Regions from separate parts of the Homo sapiens genome. Here all the other regions are linked to region 2. Evidence: promoter capture Hi-C in 16 types of primary human blood cells and fetal thymus (Javierre and others, 2016). All regions are on one chromosome and are shown on one strand. Each heading gives the region's core, a stretch centred on a gene start or on the middle of the fragment in contact. The rest is flanking DNA. Distances are from core to core; before and after follow the strand shown.

The links. Contacts are between HindIII fragments. The CHiCAGO score rates a contact against its expected background, and 5 or more counts as called.
Region 1: the fragment with the promoter of SNHG5 here is called in contact with the fragment with the promoter of SHPRH in region 2 in 1 of 17 cell types (naive B cells); the score reaches 7.7 in naive B cells.
Region 3: a contact is called between the fragment with the promoter of GOPC here and the fragment with the promoter of SHPRH in region 2, in 4 of 17 cell types (total B cells, activated CD4 T cells, total CD4 T cells and 1 more). The highest score is 14.6, in total B cells.

The regions. Positions count from the first base shown.
Region 1 is chr6:85,677,157-85,680,087 of GRCh38, forward strand. It overlaps SNHG5 (small nucleolar RNA host gene 5), which reads right to left and starts at 1,577. Exons shown (of 6, transcript NR_003038.2): 1 at 1,538-1,577; 2 at 980-1,032; 3 at 798-876; 4 at 639-719; 5 at 268-336; 6 at 1-35. SNORD50B (small nucleolar RNA, C/D box 50B) reads right to left here and starts at 503; the gene lies at 433-503. SNORD50A (small nucleolar RNA, C/D box 50A) reads right to left here and starts at 212; the gene lies at 138-212. RefSeq lists enhancers at 1,158-1,217, 1,388-1,547. The HindIII fragment of the contact is 13,479 bases long and covers 1,420-2,931 here.
Region 2 is chr6:145,962,841-145,965,659 of GRCh38, forward strand. It overlaps SHPRH (SNF2 histone linker PHD RING helicase), which reads right to left and starts at 1,518. Exons shown (of 30, transcript NM_001042683.3): 1 at 891-1,518. RefSeq lists enhancers at 1,035-1,164, 1,275-1,494, 1,406-2,393, 1,945-1,994. The HindIII fragment of the contact is 1,513 bases long and covers 605-2,117 here.
Region 3 is chr6:117,600,824-117,603,857 of GRCh38, forward strand. GOPC (golgi associated PDZ and coiled-coil motif containing) reads right to left here and starts at 1,688. Exons shown (of 9, transcript NM_020399.4): 1 at 1,181-1,688. The coding sequence starts at 1,465. It also overlaps the pseudogene NEPNP. RefSeq lists enhancers at 1,570-1,659, 1,790-2,079. The HindIII fragment of the contact is 3,398 bases long and covers 1,334-3,034 here.

The sequences.
Region 1 (2,931 bases), core at 327-2,826, about 60 Mb before region 2:
CACACAACAGTCAAGTAAACCTCGTGGCACTAGCCCTAGAAAAGGAAAAACACGAGATTCTTACAAGACTACAAACATTACAACATATGTAAAAGCATTAAAAGTATTAAAAAAAAATATTGTCCTTATAACGGTCCATCTCAGAAGCCAGATCCGTAAAAGTTTTTTTTTTTCAACAGAAGTTCAGGTTCGGGATAAGATCATCACAGATAAGACCAAGGACACAATATTCACTGATCTCTAAGCAAACAGAAAAACTCCACTTACAGAAATCGTTGCAACTTTGGAACTTCCAAGACAATCTGGCCTCTATCAATGGGCAGACAGCGACCCTCACTGTTGGCAGAAAAAAAAAAAACCCAGGATTTTATAACACAACTGTTATAAAATCACGGCAACAAAATTTACTCCACCTCTGAATTACTGGTCTTAATCTCAGAAGCCGAATCCGTACTTATTTTTCTTCAGGTTATCAGCTTCGGGATAGGTTTCATCATTGATTAGACCAATCAGACCTTGTATATGTACACATAATACATTAAACTGCACTTCTGTGACACTGACTACAAACCAAGGTAATGCTAAAAGGCAAGTATTATAGTACAAATACTACAGAACTTTTAAGCCATACAACCTACTTCAAAATGAAGCTGCTAGTCAGTCACATTCGACATTCATTATCTTCACTGGCTACTCGTCCACACTCAGAACGCTGTTCACTGACAAAAAAAATTTGATTTAGTCTAGGTGTGGATTAAATGCTATGCTCAATCATAAAGTACTAAAACAACACATACCTGTTAAAAGTGTCAGGTTTTAACCAAGCGATTTTCCATTAAATATTCTCCCAGATGTTCTGGAAGTTTTTTCGTGTATCTAACAAAAAAAAGTAAATTTCAAACGATGCAACAGTTCCTATTCCTGTAAATCAACAGGTTTACTCCTTTAGTTTGGAAACTAAGCTTAACTAAGCTCTTACCTTTGCATCTTCAGAGCTGCTCCACTGTGCCACTGAAGACAGCGCCATTGTTCCTGCGGGAAATCGGTATTTAAGCATTCTCGCAGAAATGTCACACTCCAAGGCGTTTTTCCACACAAAACCCTTCCCCTTCATTAATCCGAATTGCACACAACGCCGCCTTCGAACAGCTCAGTTTCAATACAGGGTCGAGGCTTCCCATTTTAAAACAACGCCGACGGAAGGCCTTCGCCATTTTAGTAAAGGCCCTTTGCTGTTAAAACTAACCCTCCGCCCCAATTAAGGTGGTTTTTCCGCCGCCGCTCAGGCACATGCCGGAGGCCAGCAAGTTCGGCGCCCGTGGCCGATCAGCGGTTCCTCACGCCAAAACTCGGAGCCTGTGGCCGTCACGACTCAACCTCAGTACATGTGGCAGTCCGGCCGCACGTTTCCCACGTGCAAGCTTTCAACTCTCAGCACTCTAAACTCTTCACTAAGATGTCTTCACAGGATTAAAGCTCTTAACTCGGCCTGCGCCACCATCTTTTGCTCGGATACTAGCCCGCAATACCCACTCACCTACCACCCGCCCAGACGCTCGCGAAGGCCGACGTAAAAGACCGAAGTGCGCAGCCAGTAGCTCCTTATATAGCCTCCCGGAGTCAGAACGAGGCCGTCCCGCCCTCTCGCACCTATTGGACATGGAAGTAGACAGGGGTGTGGTCGCGAATTAGCGGGAGCGCGCGCGGTGGCTCTTCTGAGGCCCGTTCCGCGTTGTGGAGCGCGCCGCAGGCCGGCCGCGCGCCCGGCCATTTCCCGGCGCGCGCCCGCAGGCGCACTGCGAAGCGTCTCTTACGAGTCTGGCGGCCGACTTGGCCCTACGTGGCGCGGGTGTGGCGCCAGAATTCAAACAGCTGCAGTTGGAAACGACGCTTTCGCCTGCCACGAGCCAAGTCCGTCCAGGACAGATTGGGTCCGAGAGTGGACACAAGTTTTGCAGCGCAGGGCGGCCTCAGCTTAGGACCGATTCGAGAAGCTGGGCTGGCTGGCTGGCTGGCGCTGGGCTGTAGTGGGCCCCCAGCGGAGGCCGCCGGAGGAGCGGGCGAGCCCTGGCCGCAGCACTCCGGGAAAGGGCAGTTGGCTGGCAGAAACGCTTGGGTGAAAAAGCGGAAAGCGCCACGTGAGAACAGCCCCGGCGTGCGGCCCTGCAGGGCCTCAGGGCGGGCATCAAGGCCCCATGGGGATCCATTCCTCCTCACGCTTCCTCGTGCCAGGCATCCGGTTACACTAAACGTGACCATACAAGTCTCCCTCAAACAGCGAACGTGAGGTTCAATACTCCATTTCGCAGAGGAGAAAACTGAGGCTTAAAACAGCCAGGTAATTTGCCTAAGGTCACACAGCTGAAATGCTTTGCTAATTTTTAACTTCTTTGTACTCAATTAGTTATATTGAAAACGAGAGAAAGATTAATTTGAGAAGTATCCCTGAATACTTTATCCAGACGACAAACACAAAATTCAAAAGCAGTGCTTTGATTAATTAGCATGTTCGAGTGAATATGTCTGCGTGTGTGTGTGTGCACACGACATTTGAACATTTCAGTATTTGAAAATTCAGGTCGTTCTTCACTTCTATATTTCAAAGCACTACTTATTAAAGTTGTTTATGTGTGCATTTGATTACGGTCCGATTCTGCTAGAGTGTGGGAGCAACACATCTGATTTCGTGCTCTGCTGTTTATTTTTTCTTAGAACAGTGCCTAGCATTAAGTAGGTTGTCGGTAATGGTTAAATGAATGAATGAATGAACAAATACATTCGGTGGCTTTTTAGAAAATTAGAATGAAGATCAAACTTCACATTCAAAGATAGTAGTGAAAAGCACTTTTCTCTAACAGGAACCTATATGATGAAGTATTGACTGGGCCGGGCATTTTGTCGGTTTTTGTATTACTTTGTAATGTCTTACAT
Region 2 (2,819 bases), core at 268-2,767:
TGTAGAAATAATTCCAGCAAGGTGAGAGTATTTTCTTCTACTGAATGCTAAAATATGCTAGTTACATAAACTTTAAAAATGCCCTCATAAGAAGCTTTTTCACCAGCAAATTGTTTCCCCTAAATCTTACTGGCCTAAACTCTTAATAATAAAAGTTTTGTTTTAATAATTCTGTAAGTCCAGCTCCTTTCGGGTGGACAAAGAGGATATACAAGAGCATCTCTCAAAAGTAAACTATTTTATTCTCAATTGCCAGCTTACTGGTTAACTGGTCCTTTAAAGCTCTAGAAAGTGCAGGTTATCGAGCACAGACATAATCATTACAATACTGCTCAGGACTGCTCTGTCTCCAGCATGTTTACTAATCATAAACTAAATAGTCTTTTTTGTGACAGTAGAGATATCATGGATCGTTTCTATTCAAGAGTTTCATCATTCCTACTAATGCCCACTGGAATAATTTAAAGTAACAGTAATAACTTTATCTTATTTTGTTCAGAAAAAGCCCCAAGTTCCTTAAGTTCCTTAAGTACAAGTTGGAAGGCATCAAACATCTCGGATTTCTACCTCGTGCTAATGTCAAACTACTTGGAAAAAGGGCACAAGCTTCCTGGTCATTATTTAACTGATCATTATACAGTGACTATTAATCATCAAATAACACCCTATCTTCGTTCATAAACATAGCAACTACCAGTCAAACTGTACAATGTCAAAGAGTGGTTCTGAATTCGAATGTAATTAATCTGGCTCCAAAGGTAACGGAGAACTTTGAGTGGGACTGAGAAACCTCTGCCTCCCCTTTTACTAATACAATGCCGCGCACAAAGAAGGGAGGCGGCGACCCAGTTCCAGCCTCCGGGGGTAGATCTGCGGCGCACGGTACCCACTCAGTTATCTTCCGAAAGACCCACAAGCGGCTCCCGGAGTCTGAGCGGGGCTGTCAGCGCCGGATCGCTCCCAGCAGGCCGAGCAAACAAGCGACCGCGAGGCCAAGGAGCGTGACGACGGACTCCCGGATCCTAGTGTGTTGGACGCTCGAGACAAACACCGCAGGCCCCAGTGCATGAGGAGAAGCACAGCCTCCTTTCCCACGACCCCACTTTATCCCCGGAGGGACGTGGTGGTCCGAAGTTCGCTAGTCCGGGATCGGGAAGAGGTGGGGAAGACTCGCGCAGCGGCTCCCTCTCAGCCCTTGAGCTTCCCGGGCTCCAGGACAACCAGCGTCCTCCCTCCCTGGTCCCGGAGGCCAAAGACCACCTCCCTCCCTCCCTCCCGACCTCTGACCCCTGACCTTCCATCACCCAAGCGCCTACCCAAGCTGGTTCTCCGAGCCTCTTGAGTCTGTTTGCACCAGGCCTGCGCTCCTCTACAGACCCAGCAGATCACGGGCACGCATTCGCCACCCACCGAACATGGGCTTGAGGTGGGCACGAGCGCTTTTTGCCGGAACGTGTAGGGGTCCCCCGGGAGACCCAGAAACCACAGCGCCTAGCTGCCGGGCGCGCGCTGTAGCGTGGGGTCAAGGCGAACGCGCTCGTCAGAGCACCCCGCCCCCTTTCTCCTGCGCTGGCTTCATGAGTCTCTTCTGCGCAAGTTCACACTGTTAAAAACTTGCTGAGGATACAGTGGAGTCTCGCGATAGCTCTGCCCCACGCCATTAGAGAACACAGGATGGCCGAATGCCCGAAGTAGGGGGCGGGGCTCCCCTTGAAGCGAAGGGCGTGTGTGATTTGTATCTCTAATAAAAAGGCAGGGGCCAGGAGCGGTGGCTCACGCCTGTAATCCCACCACTTTGGGAGGCCGAGGCGGGCGGATTTCCTGAGGTCAGGAGTTGGAGAACAGCCTGGCCAAGATAGCGAAACCCCGTCTCTACTAAAAATACAAAAATTAGCCGGGCGTTGTGGTGCGCGCCTGTAGTACCCGCCTGTAGTCCCAGCTGCTCGGGAGGCTGAAGCAGGAGAATGCTTGAACCTGCGAGGCAGAGATTGAGTAAGCCGACATCTCCCCACTGGGTGATAGAATGAGACTCCGTCTCACAAAAGAAAAGCAGAAAAGAATTCTGCAAAAGCATCTATTTTACTGCTATAAAGCAGCCACTAAGTAGGTACGAATAAAGCTTCTCCCCCTCAAAAACAGACTTTAAAGGGAAATGTGAATAAATATTCAAAGATGAGAGAAACTATTAAATACATGTGTTGCGCTGAAGCTGGCCTTCCACTATTGGTCTTTTTTCCTCTCACCTCTTCCTCATAGAAGTGACCTTAATGTTGGAATAACTCTGAGAGGCTTCAGGGTCAGGAGCCTGTGAAATAACCCTCAGGAAACACTGGGGACTCAGTACTTAGTTAGTGAGTACCTAATAGCAGCTTTTCTGCTGTGGAGGCCTTTTGGGTTGTGTGACCACAGAAGCACTTGAACTAAGTTCTTGTCCAAGTGAATATCGGTTGTAGTTGTGTTAGACAGTCCAGGGTAGTCCATATTTTACTTAGTATATTCCTTTATCACAGATACGAAGCTGTTTCCATAAGCAAATCCCCGCCTCCTTTTATTTTGCTTCCCTTTATTGTACTTTGCAGATAATATGTTTTCCTATAAATTGAAGTTTTTTGGCAACCTTACTCAAGCAAGTCTGTCAGCATCATTTTTCAAGCAGCATGTGTTCACTTGCTGTTCATCTGTTATGGTGATCTATGATTAGTTATCTTTGATGTTACTATTGTAGTTTTTTGGGAGCATTACAAACTCTGCTCATAGAAGATGCTAAACTTAATAAATGTTGTGTGTGTTCTGAAAGCTTCACTATTGGCGCCTGTCTC
Region 3 (3,034 bases), core at 438-2,937, about 28 Mb before region 2:
TCTAATCTTTTCAAAAAGGATAGAAGAAATTAACAGTTCTCGCAGTGGAGAAGAGCCACAATTCTTGGATATGTAAATCTATGTTAATCAAAGATTAATTATGCCACATATTTCATGGCTAATAGGAGAGAAAGAATGCTGACCACTAGGCAAGGAGAGGATGTTTAACTGACATTCATATTGATATAGATATAATGGGCACTGTCAATGACAACGAGTAATGATGATTTCTTAGGAAAGCATGTTCAGAGTTTTGCACATCACTGATTATCCCATTTTTATCTATTACACTTTTTGAAAAGAAAGACCCATTCTCTTAAATTGCCTAGTTAGAAAGTACTCTTTATGCAATAATGTTAATCTATCTTGATTTCTAAATATTTTAATAATGTCCTTTTTAAATTTTCTGCACAATATGATATTTTTGTTTTTTTGAACCACAGCCACTCCACCCTCACCCACACCCAGGATCAGAGATTAAAGCAAATGATTCTTTACACTCTCTCAAAAATAAATCCAGACTTTGGAAAATTACACAGTAATGTACAAGCATATAAAAACTCAAGGTCAGAAGTAATTTCAATAATTGCAGGGAGCTCTCTGGAGGTATCTGCCTGTAATTTAACAACCAACTATGGATGTAAACCGAGACAGTGATACTATCGTTATGCACCACGAAATTTTCCTAAGAGCTTTGATCAGATTCCCCTAAATAGTTTATGCATGTCTCTGTATGCAATCATAGGCGCTGACCTGGAATAATTAAAATGAAAATAATCAGTGCTGTATCTGTCTTAACATATACAAATTCGGTTTATCAATGTGAAAGCAGATCTGCAAAACTCAGTTGTCAAAAGGTGGCCTACGGTATTTTCATGACAGAGAATCTTTGTTAGGTTTGTTAATGTAACATGTGCAATGGAGGCTGGTGTATGTAATTAGTTTCCTCCTCAGAGAGATACTAGGAAGGTGGACGACAGTACCCCGGGAACTCACACGTCGGTCTAGGGCCCTTTTTGTCCCCCACCCTCACCTCACTCCTCAGACATGCACTCTCCCATCACATTTGAAGCCCCGGTGGGCAGTTTTCTAGGGTCGTTTCACTGGAGCGTTAAATGGCATCTGACGCCACCGGGCAGCCTGGGGTTGGATGCCATAGCCGCCAGCACCCACGGCTCACCTCCAGCTTGTGGTTGATTTGAGACACAGACTGGGCTTTGTGGCAAAGCTGTGCAAAGCAGGAGCTCAGGCTGGTCATCTTCTGTCGCCCCTCATAAGTGATGTCCGCTTGGTCTGGATCGATCTCTCCCAGGAGCAGATCCACATCCACAAAAGCTTTGTCGAACTCCTTCTCCAGCACCTCCAGCCACCGGAACATGGATACCCCGCCAGGGGCCCCCACGGAGCAGGAGGCGCCCCCTGGGCCCCCTCCGGCTGCTGCTGGGCATGGACCGCCCGCCGACATGGCGCCGTCAAGGGCCTCTCCCGACTGCTGAAGACCCTCGCCGCCCCCCGCGCACGAAGGGAACTGCTGGGACTGAGGGGACCCCCGCGCGCGCGGGCACACTCCGTCACCTCCCTTCACCTCGCGCCGTTAACGCCAGCAGCACAGTCACAGAACCGCAGGAGTAACGAGGCTGAAGCTGAGGCGGCAACGGCGGCGACACACGGAAGACTCAGTCAGTCCCACCTCCCAGCCTGCCCCCGCTGCGCATGCGTAGCGAAGAGCTGGGCGGACGCAGCCACGAGGGACAAAATAGGCGGGGACAGGATGCGATCTTGGCCTATGAAAGGCCTCAGCTTGGGAGCGGCCTGTCAGCGGCCATATTAACAACTGGCAAACTACGGCTTGAATCCCTGAGAAACGGAGGCGCGTGGTTTCTGCACCCTGGTTGGAAAGGCCCGAGGATGAGAAAGGTGTCCACGTCGCAGAAAGGAAGGATTTCCGCCGGTTTGACTTAACAGTTGGCGGGAGCCGTTCCAAAATCCTCCCAGAAAGTTGCTGCGGTGGCATCTAGGGTCAGGGAGGGGAGAGCAAGGAAGGGCGGTGTGAGCATGCGCAATAGCCACGTTTTTACCTTCTCGATTCCAGTTCCTGGATAGGATGGAGTGGGTGTACACACTGGCTGTTCTTGGTAAACCAGACCCCAAATTCCAGGTGTGGACTGCCTAAAGCTGCGCATTGAAGCGGCTGACCAGATTTTGCGGAATTAATAGAAGACTTTTTGTCTTGTGATTAAGAGTCAGGTAGACCTGGATTCAATTCTTACCCTCTGTCACATACTACCTGTGTCGCCTTTCATGTATTAACCTCGAAACCAAGTTTCCAAATTTTACTTAACTCAGTTGTAAGGTAAAACGCTTAGCGTCACTTCTTGGCACACGGTATTCCTCTTAATACACCATAGGTCACACATTTCAAAAGCAACTACAGTAGTGCTTCACTTAAGATGGGGATATGTTCTTAGGAATGTGTCCTTAGGTTAATCATCCCTTAGGGAACATCCTAGAGTGTATTTAAACACAAACCTAGATAGTATAGCCTACTACACACCCAGGCTATATGATGTAGCCTATTGCTCTTAGGCTGTAAACCTGTACAGCATGTTGCCATTCTGGATACGGTAGGCGATTATAACACAGTGGTAACTATTTGTGTACTTAAACATATCTAAACATAGAAAAGGTACAGTCATATACTCTTATAGGATCACCATAGTTTATGCGATCCATTCATTGCTGAAGCCTTGTTATTTGGCACATAACTGTACTTTAAAAGGTGTATTTATTTGAAAACTGGTAGTGTCCTCACACGTGACATTTCAGAAAATCAAAATTGTGAATTCATATATTTACAAATATATTGAATGCAGAGCTCTGTTGCGACATTGAAGACACAAAAATGAATGAGACATGACCCTTACTCAAGATAGGCTAGTGAGGCTACTACCCCTCAACTATAACTTTAACTTGAATTTTTCAGTGCCTTTAAAAGTATCCAGCAACTCCTCTCTTTACATTCTGCCTACTTCCA